Regions from separate parts of the Homo sapiens genome. Here region 2 is linked to region 1. The links are contacts of gene promoters, found by promoter capture Hi-C in human tissues and cell types (Jung and others, 2019). All regions are on one chromosome and are shown on one strand. Each heading gives the region's core, a stretch centred on a gene start or on the middle of the fragment in contact. The rest is flanking DNA. Distances are from core to core; before and after follow the strand shown. Region 1 holds the start of FAXC (failed axon connections homolog, metaxin like GST domain containing). Region 2 overlaps FAXC (failed axon connections homolog, metaxin like GST domain containing).

Evidence for each region. The method cuts DNA at HindIII sites, captures the fragments that hold promoters and counts their contacts. A contact is called where the count stands out against the background at its distance.
Region 2: a contact is called between a fragment that was not itself captured here and the fragment with the promoter of FAXC in region 1, in 2 of the 25 tissues and cell types used here (adrenal gland and pancreas).

The regions. Positions count from the first base shown.
Region 1 is chr6:99,348,337-99,351,036 of GRCh38, reverse strand. FAXC (failed axon connections homolog, metaxin like GST domain containing) reads left to right here and starts at 1,363. Exons shown (of 6, transcript NM_032511.4): 1 at 1,363-1,930. The coding sequence starts at 1,665. RefSeq lists silencers at 1,014-1,093, 1,154-1,203, 1,274-1,333 and an enhancer at 2,525-2,700. The HindIII fragment of the contact is 6,681 bases long and covers 1-2,700 here.
Region 2 is chr6:99,297,387-99,300,258 of GRCh38, reverse strand. All of the region lies in intron 4 of FAXC (failed axon connections homolog, metaxin like GST domain containing), which reads left to right. Among named protein-coding and RNA genes, the nearest start is that of FAXC, 51 kb to the left of the region's middle. The HindIII fragment of the contact is 6,995 bases long and covers 1-2,872 here.

The DNA.
Region 1 (2,700 bases), core at 114-2,613:
ACAGAAGGAGCATGGAGAATCCCTGGTGCCAGCCCTCCTTGTTCCCTCTTCCAGAGCACTGCAGCTTTGGTCCCAGACTTAACTACTCTGCTTCTTGCCGACAAGGCCAGGCAGCCTTCTGGCCTCTCTCCTTGAAAGACCGGCTGGTGACCACCTCAGTCACCCCAGGAGGCCGTTGGGTTTCACTCCTTGCAACCTACTTATGGGAGCCTCACTTAGAACCACACACATTACTTCTTCCTGGGAGGTCACATTTTCCCAGGAGTGTTTGGGGAGTCTCACATGCTGGTGCCTAGGCATCAGCTGACTAGCCCCTCCCCCCGTCTCGTTGAGGCGACACGTCCATATTTATTATTTATTAACAAGACGACCACACTCCTTGCCTGTTCTAAGGGGCGGGTGTGTCAGGAGAGGAAAAAAAGGGGGAGTCCTTTTGCGCCTCAATCTCTGCTCCATAGGCAAGAGCCTGGAGGTTTCTTTTACCCATCCTTCCACCTTGAGAGTGATGAACCTCCACGGCCCGAATCCTTTTTCAGTTCTTCCAAACAATTTAAAACTATCCATGCTCTTGTTAAAATCTGTGCATATATTACAAGCTTCTATTCTTTGTACTTATGAACTTTAATAAATGAAGTTAAAGGAAAAAAATACACTGAACACACACACAGTTGTTAGACAGATTTTCTAAAACAAAAGAGGGACCCCCGTCCCCCAACCGAAACCCTGTATCAGCGAGTTCCCTGATAGTGACTTCAAAGAGGAAAGACTTGAACTGGGTTTGTCAGAGAAATCTCTCTAGGTAGAGTATTTTGTTATTTGCCAAACCAGACATCTCGTCTCTGCGAACACCTGGTCAAGCCCGAGGTAATTGTGTAATGTAATAAGAGTGTTTTTATACATTATGCAAATACGCAGCGCTTTCCTGATGGCCAGAACAATCTGATTCCCGACTTTAATCCTGGCCCACGCTCCCAGCCCCCGCCTGGTGGCGTCTCCTGCCCGCAGCTCCGCGCCGCCCCAGGTGAGTCCTGCGCGTTCCCTACTCTGGGGCCCGCGGGAGGGGCTGGAGCGCAGGCGGAGGGCCGGCCGGGGTAGGGGAGGACCGGGATCCGGGCCCCGACTGCAGCTTCCTCGCGGTGGGGCCGCATTTCCAGGCACCTCCGCCGCCCTTGCCCGCGCGCGGCGAGCGGTTTTTGGGCGTGCCGCCCGGAGGCGCGGAGCCTGCCCGGCGCGCCTCAGCCCTGCAGATCCGGCCCCGGCGGAGGCGGCCGGACCGCGGAGATGCGGGGAGGGGGCAGGGCGCGGGGTAGGTGACTTTATCCCGCCTCTGTTTCCCTGCCCCGGGGAGCAATGACATCACGCGGCCTTCTCCAGGCGCCGACACAAAGAGCGGGGCGGAGAGGCAGCTGCGGGGGGAGCCGGCGGCCGCTGCTGCCGCCCAGGGCTCTGGGGCCCCGCCGGCCAGGCCCGCCGTCCGCGGCCAGTGCCCTTCCTCCTCCTCCTCCTCTGCCGCCGCCTCCTCAGTCGCCGCCGCCTCCTCAGTCGCCGCCGCCCGCGCCGCCCGCGCCCTCCGCGCGCCTCTGAGCCCGCGCCGGGCCGCGCCGGCCCCTTCCCATGCGGGCGGCGCGGGCCCTGGGAGGGGCGCCCGGAGCCAGCCGCGCAGCATGCACTGGGGGGTTGGCTTTGCTTCGTCCAGGCCGTGCGTGGTGGATCTGAGCTGGAACCAGAGCATCTCCTTCTTCGGCTGGTGGGCCGGGTCCGAGGAGCCCTTCTCCTTTTATGGGGACATCATCGCTTTCCCTTTGCAGGATTACGGTGGGATCATGGCAGGGCTGGGCTCCGATCCCTGGTGGAAGAAAACCCTTTACTTGACCGGGGGAGCTTTGCTGGCCGCAGCTGCGTATCTGCTCCACGAACTCCTGGTCATTAGGTGAGCCGGAGAGAGGGCCCCGCACAGGGGCGCAGAGAGGGGCACCTGGCTAGGGCAGGGCTGGCGCGAGAGGGGCCCGTGCCAGCCCCTCGGTCAAGCTGCCCAGATGCCCAAGCGCCCTGCAATTACCTTTCCCTAAAGGCATTTGTGGTCACCTGGCCGTGAGGGGCAGTTTAGAGTTGAAAGGAGAATTAAACCGGTGCTGGGAGGGAAAAACATTTGTCTCCCAAAATGCTCTGGGTCACTTGTCGTTATCTATTAAGAAATGGCCTTAGGAGGATCTAAGTGCAGTGTGTTTGCAACAATAGAATTGGGCCCTGCAGAAATAGGTTACACTTTTATGAAATGCCTTGTTTATAAGTAATAATGCTGGAATATTAACTGCTAACCTTATCTTTTACCTAAAGGTTAGTTCTTCCCTAAATGTCAACATCAAAAGACTGAAAAATTGCAAAAGCTCCAGAAACCTGCGGGTCCCTGTTAAAGATGCATGACCAAGTGTAGTGGTGGGCAGCTTTGATGCAGCCTTAACCTGGTTCTCTGCTTATCTGGTATTGAACGCCAAGCACCATCTTCAGGCTTAGATGTCATTGTTGTGTGAGCAGTAGGACAGGCTAGCACATGGGTGTGTTGGGCACAACACGGAGTCGCCCAGTGCCGTAAACAGTTGCATCCGCTGCCGCAGAATGTTTACAAGATTGAGTTGGAAATACCAGAAAATGGAGGCCCCTGCTGTTGGTACATCCAGCCGGGACGAGATTTTTGTTTGG
Region 2 (2,872 bases), core at 217-2,716, 51 kb after region 1:
AGAAGGTGTTCAGACACATTAATAGAGGACCAAAGTACAGAGGAGGATACACAACCCTTTGCTTAGAGTCGGGGATTTATGTCCTTCCTGCTTTCATCCATAAGGAATTATAAGAGCTGGGACATCAGCAAAGAGACAGAGTGATGGTGGTATTGGTGGCCAGTGAGGAAGGTGTCGAGATAGTTCATATGAGCCGGAAAGAGATAAATTTTTGTGTGTTCTTTCAGAAAATCTTATTAAAAATTAAAGGAGTATCTAGTTGCTTTCTAGAATGAAATCTGAAGAGGGATTAAATTAAGGAGCTTCTTCTGGTATTTTCTCCACCCACCTTTATTTTTTCCCAGAATGTGAGCTAATTGGCGATCGTGAGCTAATCACAATCTATATAGTGATTTTAGAGTATGCTTGTAGTATGAAAACAAGGGCTTTGTGAAGGAAGTGGCTTGTCTTACATATTATTTCTGACAAAGTGGGGTCTGATCAGGAGTGTAAGAGAATAGGGAGTAGATTTTATTTTTCCTGTAGCTTTGCCCTCTGGGAGATTCACTTGCAGAAAAAAAGTTTTAAGTGTGTGCATTTAAGTGTGTGCTCTTTGATGCTTGGATAGTGAGATTACCGTGACCTCCTGTTTCATTGGGAAAAGCACTCAAAATCTTTGTTTCTTAATTTTTCTTCAATTTCTAGTTAATGAAAGGTGAGAGAGGGACAATTAGAAGTATGAATAATGTCCACATTGATTTTACTATAATTGCCTGCTTATAAATCACATGAGTGCTCAGGTATAGGGAGCCCTATGTAAAACACACAATTGTACTTTATGTCTTAGACTCATAGGGAAATGAGTCTTGGAAAATCTTTTGATTATTCTCTTTAGTTTCTCCCTTGAACTTATATTTTATAGCACAGCCAGTCTTGTCTCTTTTGTCACTTATAGAGTTTGGAAATTTAGCTAAATTGTGGAAGTGGAGCTGACAGTGACCAGTGGGAAGTGGGAAAAGAATTAGGGAGGAAGGAGATGAGATTCAGAAGTTCATTTCTGTAGTGTTTCCAGTGGTCTGAAATAAACTTTCTGTCCACCATCTCATAATGATATATATGAAAACAGGTGATCAGTTTTTCCTTAGAAGTATGTTAGTGGAGACTAGGAATGGGTGCTGTGGTAGAATAAATATGGCCATAATTTTTTTTTGTGAATTCCAGAGGAAAGAACTGAGATGCATGGTGGAAGTTCTAAGGAGACCATTTTGTTTCAGTATAAGGAACCATCTAAGCACAGAATAGTCTGCCCTACCCAGTAAATTATGGGAGAGAAGTTTCAGCAGGGTTGGGGTTGGGGATGGGGAGTATCTGGTAGGAAAGTGTGAGAAGGGATTCCTACACTTGGAGAGAGGTTGAACTGGTTCTGTCCACATTACTTGTTTTGATTGTTGGAAATGAGTATAAAAGAATTCCTTATGTTAGAATAGCACCTCCTAGCTTGCAAAATGCTTTCACATTATTATACTTTTTAATCACTATTATAGCTCTCCATTTTGAGAAAGGACAGAGATCAAACATAATTAAGGCTATCATAACCTTAATTGATGGTTCCTATGTGATAGGTACCAGATGGACAGAAAAGTAAAATAGAAGTTTACTTGCCCTCAAGGTGCTTAAAAATTATTTGAGGAGATAGGACCTACACGTAGGTAAGACTGCAAGATGGCTGTGTGATTTACCTAATGTGTGAGCTAGACCAGTGGTTCTCAAAGTGTGCTCCCTGGAGCAGCAGTATCAGCATTACTTGGGCTCTTGTTAGAAATGCAGATTCTTGGATCTCACTCTGTACCTACTGAATCAGAAACTCCTGGGATCAGGGACTTGAGTTAGTGTTTTTAAAAAGCTTTCAAGGCCAGGTGTGGTGCTGTATGCCTGGAATCCCAGCACTTTGGAGGACAAGGCGGCAGGATCACTTGAGCCCAGGAGTTCAAAACCATCCTGGGGAACATAACGAGGTCTCATCTCCACTAAAAAAGAAAAAAAAAAAAAAGCCTTCCAGGTGATTATACTACATGCTCAAGTTTAAGACCAATGATATACTCTAGCCCAGTACTTCTTAAGCTTCAGTGTGCACAAGAATCACCTGGAACAGTGCTATTCACAGTCTGGTCCAAGAACTGCAGACTATCCTGGTGATTTTAATACCTCTAAAGTTTGAGAAACCCTGACCCGAAAGCTTGTTAAACACAGGTTCTCTAGTCCCATTCCCAAGTATTCTGATTCAGTGATGGGATCTAAGAATGTCTAACTAACACTCAGGTGCTGCTGGTGCTGCTAGACTACTCTCTCAGTAGCCTCGCTCTAAGCAATTCGCCCCTCTGGGATTTAACAGAGGCGTGGACAATGAGAGGTTCCAGTAGACTGGGACCGTGTGGGAAGCCTTCATGCAGTGGAGGAGGTAGGACTTGGTCTGAGTCCTAATGGAAAGGTCAGGCTTAGATAGCCGGAGTTATTTGGGGCAGGGAGGATAGGATGAGCACCTGCATGTTTGACTGAAGTAGACCATTCATAGGAGGTAGAGCTCGGTTTGTCCTGCCCAGGTCTGGAGAGCATCACACACTGTCAGCTCTCATACATCCTCCCCAAGGGGGCGGCTCAGAGCCAGGCAGTGAGCAAACAGCCTAGGATTGTGAGCACTTCCTCAGTTATGCTGCGTATGGCACCCCCTCCCCCACTGGAACTTTCAGGGGCATGTGGCTCTCTGCTTGTCCCCTCCTATTCTCTTGGTTCCCTTGCTCATCAAGTTCAGCTCGCTTCAGCTTTGCAGCTTGCTTGTTCCCTCAATTTGGCCTAAGTCTTCAGGCCTGGATTCTGGCCATTCTTCTCAGACTCA